3 separate regions of the Homo sapiens genome follow, and all the other regions are linked to region 3. Evidence: promoter capture Hi-C in human tissues and cell types (Jung and others, 2019). All regions are on one chromosome and are shown on one strand. Each heading gives the region's core, a stretch centred on a gene start or on the middle of the fragment in contact. The rest is flanking DNA. Distances are from core to core; before and after follow the strand shown.

Region 1 (4,731 bases), core at 413-2,912, 320 kb before region 3:
CAGCAGCGTTGACAAGGTCCCCAGGTAGCATCACTGCTTCCTGCTCTGACGTGAAACGTCCTGGTAAAGAGATTGACTGAACATGAGACGAGGACAAAGAGGCAACATATGTGGACCAGAACCCGGGCCCTTTATACCAGACTCTGCTGTGAGTCTTTTAATGAACAGACATTTTGCTAGCTGCTGCTGGGAAAGTAGAGATGTTTGATTGTAATGCTTCCTTCAAAGAGCTTATAAGCTACTACAGATAGTGACTAATGACCAAGGCTAGATAGATTTGGTTCCAAAATTCTCTGCCATCTAATACCTGGATGACATCTCAGTGACCCTAGCAAGTCACAGCCCTTCTCGCAGTGCTGATTTCCTCGCCTATAACATGGGCAAAGCAATTCCTCTCATTAGGGATTGTTATGGCAGAAATTTCGTTCCTCTTGCCTCCCGTTTCCCCATGGACAGAACGCAAAAAGAGTAACACTCCTGGCCTCTTGCCCCGCCCCTTCCCCTCTACCCCTCAGAGGGGAAGTGAATGAGTTACCTGATGTGGGGCCACAGCCTTGGGACCACAGTTCTTGGTGGGTAGAGCTAAGTTATTAAAAGACTGTAAGACTAGGGATGTTTCCTCTTTTCATCCCTTTTCTCCATACCAGGGCTAGGCAGGAATCCTCAGTAGATGAGTGACTCTGAAGCCCAAACTTCCCCCAGCAGGCCTTTCCAAGTTCTCTATGGGGGACCCTGTATGGGATCCTGTATGGGTGCAAAGAGGGTTATGAGCCAGCCCTTTGACCACAAATAGGAAGTCATGCTCTCCAATCAGTTTATCAATAAAAAGCTAACATTGATGTCCATTCGCCAGTCTCCTGGATTTTATTTCCCAATTGATCCTCATTTCAGAAGGGGAGAGAGAAGTGATTTTTCGCCGAGCCTCTTAAAGTCTAACAAGGGGCCAGGTGCAGTGACTCACACCTGTAATGTCAGAGCTCAGGTAAGAATCGCGCTTGAGGCCAGGAGGTGGAGACCAGCCTGGGTGACAGAGTGAAACCCTGTCTCTTTAAAAAATAAAAAATAAAAAAATAATAATAAAAGTCTCATAAAGGCATGGTGAGAAGAAAATGAGATATGTATATGTATATAAATTACCTGTTTCATAAGAGGCATCAATAAAAGATGATTATAATCATGTTGGCCCAGTTAGTAACCCAGACAGAGACTTTTTATCTAGGCCCGGGAAAGACTGAAGTTGTCAGTAGAGGCCTCCATGAGGAAATCAAGCATAAATTGGGCCTGGAGAAATGAGGAAGGAAATGGGAGGGCATTTCAGACAGGAAGATGTACATGGGTAAAGGTATGGATTTCCTCAACATTTCTTGCCATTTGTCCATCTTTGACGTCACCCTCTCCCTTATTGGGGTGGTTAAGTCTTCCTTAAGAAGGAAGGGTGACATCACCCTCTCCCTTGTTGGAGTGGTTAAGTCTTCATCTTCATTCCTTCTGGGTGGTCCTTCTGTTCTCACAGCTCTCATCCACATACAGCCATTCTCCAATGTCAGCCTTCCCCTTTTCTCTCATAATAACAGAGGCTTCCCAGAATAAAAGCTATACTCCCCCACCTTCCTTGCAGCTGGGTTTTGTGCCCATGTGAGTCAGTTCTGGCTAATGGGGAGTGCGTGCCAGTGATGCGTATAACTTCCAGGCCATGCCTTTGAAAGAGAGGACACCTGCCCTTCCTGCTTGCATGTCCTTTCCGTGTTGGAGGACTCATTTCTGCCCTTCTTCCCAGAAGCCTTTCCTCATAACAGTGACAAATGAAAGCCACCTTGGATCATGTGGATAAAGAATACATCCCAGACCAACACAGAAGGAATCTGCATTATAGGCAGCTTTGTAAGGCAGAGCCTTCCTAATAACTAGGTGAGAAACAAATTAACTAGTATTTTATGTGAACTACTGTTATTTGGTCTCTGTCATATGCTGCCAGAATTATCCTAGCCAATACTAGCTGCTTATCACTGTTATAGGAGTGAAGGCTTCCTGGAAGAGGGAAGGGCAGGGATGTACCTCCAGGTATACAGCACAGCATAGATACAGGTATAGAAGCTGGATGAATTCATAGACCTGCAAGCAGCTGGGTATGTCTGGGGCCAAGTCTAGGGTGGAAGGAGAGTGGTGAAAGAGACTGGCAGGGTCCAGACCAGACAGGGTGTTTTATGGAAGTGACAGAATTTGGACTTTATCCTGCCTTAACCACTCCAACAAGGGAGAGGGTGACGTCAAAGATGGACAAATGGCAAGAAACGTTGAGGAAATCCATACCTTTACCCATGTACGTCTTCCTGTCTGAAATGGCCTCCCATTTCCTTCCTCATGGAAAGTCATGGAAGTGTTTGGGACATGTGAATGGACTGTGTAAAACAGCGGTCCCCAACCTTTTTGGGACCAGGAACCAGTTTTGTGGAAGATAATTTTTCCATGGACAGGGGGTTGGGGAGATGATTTGGGGATGAAATTGTTCCACCTCAGATCATCAGGCATTAGATTCTCATAAGGAGTCTACAACCTAGCTCCCTCGCACACACAGTTCACAATAGGGTCCAAGCTCCTGTGAGAAGCTAATAACACTGCTGATCTGACAGGAGGCAGAGCTCAGACAATAATGCTCGCTCGCCCACTGCCCACTGCTCGCTGCCTGCTGTGTGGCCCAATTCCAAATAGGCCACAGACCAGTTCCAGTCCAGGTCCCGGGGGTTGTGGACCCCTGATCTAAAACACAGAGTTAAACTGTGCTCTATAAAGACAATGCTGGCCTCAGTATTCACAGGGTTGGAAGAGCCAGATTAGGGATAGCTTATGAGAACCTAGCTGGTCTCCTGATTCCCAGGCTGGTGTCCCCCATCTGCCCCTGCAGGCACATCCCACACTCTTCTCCAGGATCTCACCCCTTAACTTAAGAGAACTCACACTCAAGAGAATGTTTGATTTTATGTTTGTTAGAAAGAGGTTTCTCTGGAACTACGTCTATCCCCACCTCTAGATCTCAACATTTAAAATAACTGAACTTTGGTACCCTTCAGAGCTGCGTCCTTAGCCAATTAATATTAGTTCCATTTTTGGAGAACTGAGTTGATCCAAAGTCAATGGGACCATGTTGAGAAAAAGTCAATAGGAAAATTTCAAATAAAGCCACTAATTGTCTCCTCATGGTGAGGGCTTCAACAGGATGGTGAGATTTGTTCTTAAATATCCAGGTGCCATAGGAGTTGCCTGGTCCTCAGGCCTGCACTCAGAAACAACTTCGCTGAAGGACGTCAAGCCCGCGTAGACCACACTATGAGCCCTCAAGTTATTTTACTTCCCTTCTCATCTCCTAGAGAACAGAAATGGTCTTTGCTCACTTCTACATCCTCTCAATGCCTAACACCAGTTATACCTTGTAAAAATTCAATAAAGCTTTGTCAAATTGGATTGGGCTCATCTATTCCTTACACTTCTAGTTAGTGAAATTTTACTCAGTTGGACGTCACAGTTTTTCATCAAGGTTCATAGGTATGCATGTAAGTATTGTAATTAGATGAAATCATGGTTTTTCTAGGATTTACTTCTTTCCTCCACAGAGCCACCTCTTCACCCTCATAAAATGTGGTTGACAAGAGAAAAGGAAAATTTCCTTGTTATGGTGATTGGTGCCTTATTTCTACGTTTTCCTAGAATGCAAAATCAAGATAGATGTCTGGCATATTTATACAACTTTGAAAGCAGCTGGAGTAGTTTTGTCAGAGAAATATACTCAGGAGTACTGCCCCCAATATGTAAGCATGACCTAGATATGTATTATCATTTTTAATCATCTTAGGTTAATTTCCTCATCTATCAGAGCAGAGAATCAATAGATACTGTCTCAGGCTAACAAATAACTTAAAAATTTAAATGACAGAAGATTTTATACAATGCATAGTCAAGATAACAGTGATCGCTTGTGTTTTGCCTACTCCTATACCCCCCAGCCCTCTTGCTCCAAACACACAGCAACAATAAATAAAATGTAAAGAGGGAAAATTAAAAACACATAGGCATGCTTAAAACAAGAGAAGAATCTCTATGAACCGGAAATAAAAAGTGGGAAGAGGAAGGTGTAACCATGAGCCTCCTAGGCTCAAGGTTGGGAAGCAAACATTAAGAGTGGGAATTCGGATTCTGGGGTGTAACCAGAAGTAACAACCTTCAACATGAGGTGGGGCACCTGAGTCGGGCTCACTGTTCCAAACCAGGGAAGCACTGGTACCTTTTGCTCTTGAAAGGAAGCTAGAAATGTCTGCCGACAGCTCCCAGTTACATCCCATATGAAACTGCAAGCTTAGGGAGACGGGGAGGACAGATCCTTACCACCAGGACATCAATCAAGCTGCTGACTCGATGAAAGTATCTGCAGTAACCCCAGTGTGATCACTGGGCTAGAGCTCCAGCCTGCTAATGTAAAACATGGCTCTGAACTAAGGGTCCCGAGGGGCAGGGTGGAGATGGCCACATAACTGCTAGACAGGGAGGAATGCAGGGAGAAAGAGCTCTCCCATTCAAAATGAACTTGTACACCAAAATTTAAAAACACCTGAAAAGCTGATACCAGTGAAAATGGAAGCGTTAATGCTTCGAATATGTCATGTGAATACTGGCAAAAAATTTTTAGAATCAACTTTTTTAGAAGTCTGGAAGTTAATCAAATTCTTGTAGCAATCTAGG
Region 2 (4,826 bases), core at 2,217-4,716, 470 kb after region 3:
ACATTAAAACTTACAGAAAACACATTATCAGGATGTGCAAATAGGACAAAGCACAAGTTTGCCAATAAATTGAGTTCTTACATCTAAACAATTCTTAGGTATTCCCTGCACTAGTGACATTACCTCCATCTTCCAGGCAATGTTCCAAATTTCCTCAGGCTACCTGCCGAATGTATTTAACGATTTTAAAACTTAACATTCTAGCAATGCTAGCAATATCCCTAATACTTTCAAGGCATAGCTTATGAAGTAATACACTTACACATAAGATGTTGTTTGGAGCTAATGTTAAGGGACCCACCAATCAGATTCCTATGGTTTGAGGGATATATGGTAGCTATATGGTCTGTAAGGCTGGTTATATTTAAGAAATTACCTCTTGTGCTCAGTTAAACATGGAACGTTGGGCATATGGTTATCTGTGCTCCCTCCTGAAACCCCATTAAAACCCCATGAACTGAAAGGTTGGGAGGGGGTAGAAATCAAGGGGGCAGAAGTAGCATTCAAAGACAAAAAGTGTGAAAGGGGAAACAGCAGAGGAGGAGGAATGCCATTTTGACTGGTGGCAAGCAGGTGTGCTAGGGCTGAGTTAGCAAAGCAGAGAAAGCTGGAAGTGCAGCAGCCAAGGGGAAGGGAAAGCTAAGAAGTACAGAGAATTCCAGCACAGCACTCTGCAGAGCCTCCAGCCCAGGAGAGAACCAGGGCAAAGGGGACATCTGCATGGATGGGCCAGGAATGCACTTAAGCCCTGCTTCTGCTGCAAGCCTAGACCAGAGATGGCCTAGACTGACACCAGCATGGGAATAGAGATGGTGAGAAGTGACAAGTTTCTGCATATATTGAGATACAGCCAACAGGATTTCAAAATGAAGGAATGACATGTTAGATTTCTGGCCCAAGCAACAGAAAAAAGTGAACATTAGTTGAAAACTAAGAGTTGCAGTTTTTTTGGAAAGATCGAGTTCAGATTTAGACGTTAAGTTTGAAGTGACTATTGGACAGCCAAGTGACAGTGGTAAGCCGTTATCTTTATTATTCTGGTCAGGAAGCTAGTCTGTCCTCTGCCCCAGAGAGACAGCATCTCTACCCTCCCTGCTGGTTTGCCATACAAGAGTCCTTAGTAAGCTGGTCCAGGACATAAGTCATCACAAGATATGTAGAAACGCCTTTGAGGATTGCCCTGCAATAGCATCATTCTCTTGTTTCTATAGGGTCCTGGCTTCTGGCAGATTTTTTTCCATGAGCATGCCATTCAACCAGTATGACTAATATGGCCAACATGAGCCAAGACAAAAATTCTAGTTTGTACTCTAAGCACCAGAATTAGACCAACCTGTAATATTGAGCTTAGCTATAACCCCCAGGGTTCCAGCTGAACAGATTTCAAATCATCAACATCTACCTTAGAAAGCCAAGTAGCTTGCTCCTTAAGTTTCTGTATTAACCCAAAGCATTAACCCAGGTGGAACAAGATGTATTAGCAATTGCACAGACTGCACCTTGGCACACAAGGAAGAGGTCTAGGGTGAGTCACAACCATAACAATCCTGGCCAGTGAATTAGGCTGGGCTGCTCTGTCAGGACCCAGGTAGTGTTTCCCTAAACACTTCCAGGTCTCCTGTGACCACCACTAGGGTCTAAGTCAATTGTTTTAGGAAAGAGGCAAACTGATGTCCAGCTTGATGTACAGCTTAAGTAGAAGCTACAGTGATGTGGAACAGAGCATCCCTGGACACAGCGTTTATTTTGCCTTACCCAAAGTGAGATCTATACCACTTAGCATAGGTTGACAGTGGCTCCAGCATAGACTCCCAGCCAGCTGGTAAGCCTGAAAATTCCCGGTTCCATCTACTCAGGGGGTCTGCCTGAGGAGAGTCAGTCTAGATTGCTGATAATGCCAGCTGGGTTGCATTTATCCACTTCACAAAATAGGTCAACTGTCTGGCTGAGAATGGCAGTCCCAGCAGTCAGATTGCTGTGGTTTGAGGGACATGTCATGGAGTTTCCTTCTGTATCAAAACTTCAGGGCAGTTCTGAGAGCAGGGGTCATTGTTCAATGACCCAACGTTCATTGTTCAACATGAACTTCAATGTTCCCAGTGTTTATCAAAGGTAAGTGCCACTTTGTGGATGAAGCCATCACGACCAACAAATGCATCATCTAGAGGATGGGGCAAGACAGACGTTTAAACAGTCAGCTGTCTGGCTGAGGATGGCAGACCCAGCAGTCAGATTGCTATAGTTTGAGAGACATGCCATGAGTTTTCCTTTCTGTACCAAGACTCTAGCACAGTTCTGAGAGGGGTATCACTAATGCCCCTCTTTCTTTCTCACCTCCTAGGGTGTAAGACAGGTCACCTCAGCAGATGCTGGCTTGTTTGTTGCTCTTCCATCATCTCCACAAAATTGATGTCCCATTCCAGGAGCTACAACTCCAGCTATTATCCAACCATTCCCTGCTCACACCCAGACCTTCTGTAGATCAGGTGAAAGGGATAGGACACTAAGATTTAACAGGTTTGAGTCCCCAAGGCCTCCTTTTTGGCTTAGGGAAAATAAGCTCATAAATAACCTGAGGAAGAATCTATGGAGAAACAGTCTTAGAAGGGGGTCAGAGCTGATAAAGTCAATCTTCCAGGCAGGGAAAAGGGAACTACCTTTTGTGATATTGCATGAGCTTGTGGCAGGAGTCAGAAGTTTGGTGTGCAACAGTAGCCTCTGCATCAAAACACAGTTCAGTTCAATCAGCAGCTTGATTCTAGTTAGTTTCAGAACCAGCCTTTGCCATGGGTATCTGAGGGAGTGAGCCAGATAGTTTCCAGTTTGAGAGGACTATTTGATCTGTTTCTTCCACTTAGAACATGAACTGGCAAACAGGCCATTAACAGCCCAGCAGTTTGAATTCTGCTCTGAGTAGGGCAACCACATTCACTCTTAGCTCTGCAGGGCTGGCTCTGAGGCTGAGGACTTGCATCAGCCCAGTGGACACTGAGGTTTCAACTCAGCCAGACCCTCACTGAGGCAGGCTCAGGCAAGTACAAAGGAGGGCATCTTGGGCCAGTGGCTTTTCCTCCCCAGTAGCAGAGTAGGTAGAATGCAGTTTCTCCATAGGAATTACAGCTACTTTTCCGCATAAAGCCAAGATACCACTGGGCAAAGACTGTTTCGTTCTTGGCTATGTCACGGCTATTTCTAAGCAAGGCTTTTGGGGTGCTTTCTACCTTGTTAGTCTTTGAGTGCAAACTGACCCATCCCAAAATGATAATTTCAGGACTAAGTCACAAAGCCTCTAGAGATGAGGTGTTTCATTTCAATGGGAACTCAAGAAGCCAAGAGCTACTTTCCAAAAGAGGTCTACCTGGGTAGCCCTGTCAGAGGGGCCACAACTCCAGGACACCAATGGCACCTCCAGGTGGGAGGCTGACTCCCTTTGCCAGAGGCCCCAGTTGACAAAAGTCAGACCTGTTCTGTTTCCAATGTCCAAGGAGTCCAATAAGGCATTGTAACTTACACCAGTAAGCCAGGCCCATTACTGTCAGTCTCTAAACAGCTGCTCATGGCTCAACCAGTTTCGTTCACCCAACACCCTGTGTCAGCTTTAGTGACTCCTTGACCTTCCTTCTCCCCACTAGGAAGAAAGCAAATGACTAAAAGCACTATTGGGGCTGCTTGTTTCAATCCTAGTCTCAACCCCTTAGTCTCATTAACAGGACAGTGAAGACTTACCCTCACACTTGGGCAGCAGCGTTCACTACCAGACACAGGGTCTCAAGGGACTTGCTTCTCATCTCCCCTGACCCAGCCTGCAAAGGATCTTTGTCCTTTCTCTTGCAGAAATCCAGGTTTGTGTCCCATTCTCATCACCAAAACTTAAGAACCATCAAGAGTCAAGATTTTACCCTATTTTCAAGCTAACAAGTTATCCTGCCACAGTTTTATAGATGCCGAGACAGGAAACCCCTCGTCAGAGAAAAAACGACTGACTTACTGCCTGGTAGGTGGCACAAGCTTCGTGTTTGAATCCATTTCCCCCACCCCCAGCCTCCCTTGTGCAAGTCTCATCGCAATGAGGCGCAGCCTTGAGTAGGGTAGCTCTGGCACAGCTGAGGGGATTTGAAGCTTAGAGAACCCCAATCCCCGATCATTCAAAGGAGCTGCTAGTATGTCTGATTTGACACCTATCAAGATAGACTTCCAAGAATATTCAGGAAGACAACCTAGTTTTCAATGACTTAATCTAATTCTGGTAAGATGAGTTGTCCCTGCAATTAAGGGACATTGCCCTCCTATTCCTTGTGCTCCATCTCCCAAATCTTGCTGTGTTCTCGGACACAGACCCTCAGGCTGGGTGGCTAAAATCCAGAACTCGACTTGACCACCAGCAGCTGTCATGCTGTTCTGACAGGACTGACTTCCTGCATAGGTAATTATTTTCTGATGGTTTAACTCTGCCTTGCTCAATGCTGGGAGTGGGACCAAGTTTATACAACAAATGGAGAAAAGAATTATCTGTTCTACTCTCCTAGATGTTTCCCTTCCCCAGCCTCTAATGGCAAGAACCTGGGATCCTACCTTGTTCTGACAGGACTGTTCTTTTCCCATCCCTTCAACATGAAGATTTTGCCTCAGTCTTCAGAGTCCTAGTCCTCACAGGTATTAATTTCCTCAAAAACAGATATGAAGCCTTTGAAGTCAGGGGTATGTCAGGAAAACCTGGTTTGATGAGAGAAGAAACCAGAGCACCATAGGGCTAGGATACAGGGTTAGCAAAAGTGGATTTGGTTGTTTGGTTATGTAAAATAAATAAATAAATAAATAACCTGACA
Region 3 (4,534 bases), core at 1,506-4,005:
CTACATAATTAGGGAGTATTATACATTAGCCATACAGTCCAGATGTTAATTTGAACTCACAGTATAAAATATTTCTATTGAACCTATATAGGTAAATGATGGCCACAAAATAATTAAAGATTGGATAACAAGCAAGTATGAAAATAGCTCAGCATAAAGTAGAATGGCAAGAGTTTGAGAGCAGGACTTCAGGTCTCCTAATTGGCTATTTAATAGCTGAGTGACCTGGGACTTAACCAGTCTGAGCCTGTTGCCTCCACTGTAAAATGAGGATAAGCTTATTTCACAGGGTCATTATAAAAATTAGTTAATGGATATTAAAAGCCTGGCATATTGTTCCAAATAAATATTTGCATCCTTTCCTTTTCCCCTTCGTTAGTCATCAGGGAGAAGATGCCACCATCTCCAAAAAGCATTATCAAATTATGACCAAAGTAGTCACAGAAGTGTCTTAGAAGGCCCAAACTTCTGGAAGACATGTTTCATTTTTCAATGTGCTTCAGTTCCCATGCAGGCAGATAAAATACCCACCAGCAATGAATGTGTTTGCTCAAATAGCAAATCACTAGACACTGCTAGTTGCATCAGAGGCCATTAGCTTTTCATTCATTGGCCATATGGCCTTTGACAAGGGTCTTCACACCTCTCTCTCAAGTAGGGGGAGGGGTCCTGACTTGGTGTCTCAGGTCTGTAACCACAGCACTTTGGTAGGCCAAGATGAGTTACCCCCTCTCCACAAAAAATAATAAATAACATAAGCAGAAGGCAGGGAATCCCTAAGTAGGACTGCAGAAGCATTAAATGAGATAATGTACTTTTATTCATGGGAGGTGTTCAATAAATATTATCATCTTTTCCTTTCTAGAGGTGTTTTAGGCAATCACTAACTACCACCTTATTCCTAAGAACTTTTTAAGGACAGTGTCCATTTCTTTCTTTTATTCAACACATTTATTGATTACTAAATATGTGAGGGGACCTGCTTTGGACATGAACAGTAATAAACAAACTCCCTGTTCTAAACAGTTTCATAATTTAGATCAAAGATAAACTATCAGCCTGGGATTGCACCTGGCCTATTACTTGTTTTGTTTGGCTAGCACTTTGAATCAATTTTAAATTTGAATCAATTTTAAAATTGAAATAGCCCACAATGTCCTTTTAGGGACCAAAATACTTGACAACACTGAGCCCAATTCCAGTTGAAGAGCAACTGACTAGCGCTGAGCAGCCCTGATGGTTTCAGCCAGGTCTGTTCTATCCAAGCGGAGTTCCCCCACCAGACCTTATGGTCTCTAATTGAAACACTTTCAGTTGCCATTTATCATAGCATTTGCTCTTTTGTTTTAAAATATTTCTCTATAATCAGGCTTCTATCGAAAGCAGGAAAACTACAGGGCGACTTGGGACTGCATGCTTGACGGGAAAAAAAAGCAGCATTAATTCTCAGTGGGAGGCTGGGCGCCGTGGCTCATGCCTGTAATCTCAGCACTTTGCAAGGCCGAGGGAGAATCACTTGAGCCCTGGAGTTCGAGACCAGCCTGGGCAACATGGTGAAACCCTGTCTCTACGAAAAATACAAAAAATTAGCTGGGTGTGATGGAACGCACCTGTAGCCCCAGCTATTTGGGGCTGAGGTGGGAGGACCACCTGAGCCAGGGAGGTCGAGGCTACAGTGAGCCGAGACCGTGCCGCTGCACTCCAGCCTGGGGGACGGAGTGAGACCCTGTCAAGAAATTTTAAAAATTAAAAAATAAATAAAATCAGTGGGAGTGAGAATTTCTACGAACTTAATATAAAAATAACTTAAAAACAACTTAAAACACCATTGCGCCGGGCGCGGTGACTGGCGCCTGTAATCCCTGCACTTTGGGAGACCGAGGCGGGCGGATCACGAGGTCAGGAGATCGAGACCATCTTGGCTAACACGGTGAAACCCTGTCTCTACTAAAAATACAAAAAAATTAGCCGGGCGTGGTGGCGGGCGTCTGTAGTCCCAGCTACTAAGGAGGCTGAGGTAGGAGAATGGCGTGAACCCGGGAGGCGGAGCTTGCAGTGAGCCGAAATCGGCGCCACTGCACTCCAACCTGGGCGACAGAGTGAGACTGTCTCAAAAAAAAAAAAAAAGAAACGCCATTGCAAAACCTTGAGAATGGTTTTAACTGGAAAAAATGTATGATGAACAATTTAACTGAAAAATAAATACAATTTTAACACGGTTTGTTTTTGAAAGCGAATGTGACGTTGCATTCTTCATACAGTGAAAAGGCTGCTTCTCGCCCTTTCGTTACCTGCCCAGTCCGAATTGACTCCTGAGACCTAATCAGGCGCATCTCTATATGGCCAGCATTATCCCTGGGCTGCCTAAATAGTTCGCGTTAAACACAAACAACAACAATAAAATCTAAATAACACTCAGTCTTAGTACCATTATTACAAAAGCGTGAGGGGCGAAAAGATTAAAAATGAACATCAACTTCGGTAGAGATGGAAAAAGACTGCCCACTCCATTCCAGGAAAGAAAAAAGAAAGTGGGAGAATCTGATCACGACGGGCTGAGGTCCTGTGAGAGCAAAGCAGATTCCAAACCGCTTAGGGTTGCTAAATCAAGTGGTAAAACGTGGCCCCTTGCGGCGCGGTGAGATTAACGGACCCGGCGGGCCCAGAGCCTGCCTCGGGTCCTAAAGGGATCCGCCCCGCCGAGTCAGCCACGCCTTCGTCTCCCACGCGCTGCGCCCGGCCGCGCCGTCACCCAGCAGCGGCGCAGGGCACCATGGGAAACGGACGGAAGCTCCATTGAGCCAAATAAGTTGGTGAGAAGGTTCCCGACGCGGCGATGGCGAGAAGCAGAGAAATGGACCTGGGGAGGGGCGTGCGGGGTGCGGTAGGGTTGGATGGAAGCCTTGGCGGGCCAAAACCACTGCGGCTTCAAAATCCGGATGCGCCGGTATTTGAGGCGGAGGCGGGGCTGTGGGGGGAGGAGGGAGGCTATGGCGCTCAGAGCACTGTGGGACACTGTAGGCCACGTGGGGCGGAACGGAAACCTCGCAGGGTCAGACCGTAGCGACGCGGGAAGTCCGGACGCAGTAGCTCCCTGAAGCGGAGGCGAAGGGGAGTTTAAGCCCCAGCGGCGGCAATGGCGGAGAGGCCCGAGGACCTAAACCTGCCCAATGCCGTGATCACCAGGATCATCAAGGAGGCGGTGAGCAGCTCGGGGGGGGCGGACGAACGGGCAGGAGGGAAGCAGGTGCTGGAACGGCAGCTTTGCTCACCCCCGGTCTCCTCGCAGCTCCCGGACGGTGTCAACATCTCCAAGGAGGCCCGGAGCGCCATCTCCCGCGCCGCCAGCGTCTTCGTGCTGTACGCCACATCCTGGTGAGCGGGACAGAGGCATAAGGGAGGCGCGGGGATACCTGGCTGGGAGTTGCTGGCTGGGAGCCTACAAACCCCAACGATTGTGTTCTCCCTCGGTGGGGACATGTTCACAGTCCTCTGCCAGTTTTTACAAGTTCTGAAGCAAAATAACACAACAAAATCACTTTGCTTTAGCTTTTTTGTGCAGAGAAGGGAAGGACTTATCCCTGTCACACCAAAATCCATACATGTAAGAGGCAGGCTTTCCCGTTCCACCTCTGGGTGCTCCTTTTCCCACTCACGCCTTACAAACAAGAGGGAGTCTGACAGCCTTTCTCTTCTCTCAGTGCTAACAACTTTGCAATGAAAGGAAAGCGGAAGACGCTGAATGCCAGTGATGTGCTCTCAGCCATGGAAGAGATGGAGTTCCAGCGGTTCGTTACCCCATTGAAAGAAGCTCTGGAAGGTAACGAGCCTCTTGTCTTCTAAACCACATAGAAGATGGTCATCCTGTGTGACCTGTTCACCAGGCCCTGAGCCTTCTCAGCGCGGGTCCCTTTAAGTCCAGTAAGCCAGCACTTGATGTGACTCGACCCAGTTCGGTGGGCACCACCTCAGATCTGTTTTGTAATGCTGAGCAAGTTATTTTTCCTTCTCTGCCTCCGTTTTTGTTTTTGTCTTGCTTTTCTTGTTTTTGTTTTTTTTTTTTTTTTTTTGAGACGGAGTCTTGCTCTGTCACCCAAGCTGGAGTGCAGTGATGGGATCTCAGCTCACCGCAGTCTCCTCCTCCTGGGTTCAAGCAATTCTCCTGCCTCAGCCTCCCGAGTAGCTGGGACTACAGGCGCACGCCACCACGTGCGGCTCATTTTTTATTTTTGTAGAGACGGGGTTTCACCATATTGGCCAGGCTGGTCTTGAACTCCTGACCTCAGGTGATCCGCCCGTCTCAGCCTCCCAAAGTGCTGGGATTACAGGCGTGAGCCACCGCGCCCATCTGCCTCCGTTTTTCCAATTGTACAATGTAATTAGCTCCTGCAGTCCGTCTGGCTCACTTTCAGCTCTGTCTCCTAACCCCTTGTTCCGTCCTTACAGCATATAGGCGGGAGCAGAAAGGCAAGAAGGAGGCCTCAGAGCAAAAGAAGAAGGACAAAGACAAAAAAACAGACTCGGAAGAGCAAGA

What was found. Contacts are between HindIII fragments. The study calls those that stand out against the background at their distance.
Region 1: a fragment that was not itself captured here is called in contact with the fragment with the promoter of POLE3 in region 3 in 1 of the 25 tissues and cell types used here (liver).
Region 2: a fragment that was not itself captured here is called in contact with the fragment with the promoter of POLE3 in region 3 in 1 of the 25 tissues and cell types used here (thymus).

Annotation. Positions count from the first base shown.
Region 1 is chr9:113,731,979-113,736,709 of GRCh38, reverse strand. No RefSeq gene overlaps it. Among named protein-coding and RNA genes, the nearest start is that of ZNF618, 140 kb to the left of the region's middle. The HindIII fragment of the contact is 4,468 bases long and covers 1-3,896 here.
Region 2 is chr9:112,936,296-112,941,121 of GRCh38, reverse strand. No RefSeq gene overlaps it. Among named protein-coding and RNA genes, the nearest start is that of SLC46A2, 48 kb to the right of the region's middle. The HindIII fragment of the contact is 6,082 bases long and covers 426-4,826 here.
Region 3 is chr9:113,408,896-113,413,429 of GRCh38, reverse strand. POLE3 (DNA polymerase epsilon 3, accessory subunit) reads left to right here and starts at 2,755. Exons shown (of 5, transcript NM_017443.5): 1 at 2,755-2,813; 2 at 3,022-3,202; 3 at 3,290-3,375; 4 at 3,702-3,820; 5 at 4,447-4,534. The coding sequence starts at 3,137. C9orf43 (chromosome 9 open reading frame 43) reads right to left here and starts at 2,683. Exons shown (of 14, transcript NM_001278629.2): 1 at 2,429-2,683. RefSeq lists enhancers at 1,156-2,055, 2,674-2,863, 3,104-3,383, 2,956-3,855, 2,758-3,957. The HindIII fragment of the contact is 6,520 bases long and covers 1-4,534 here.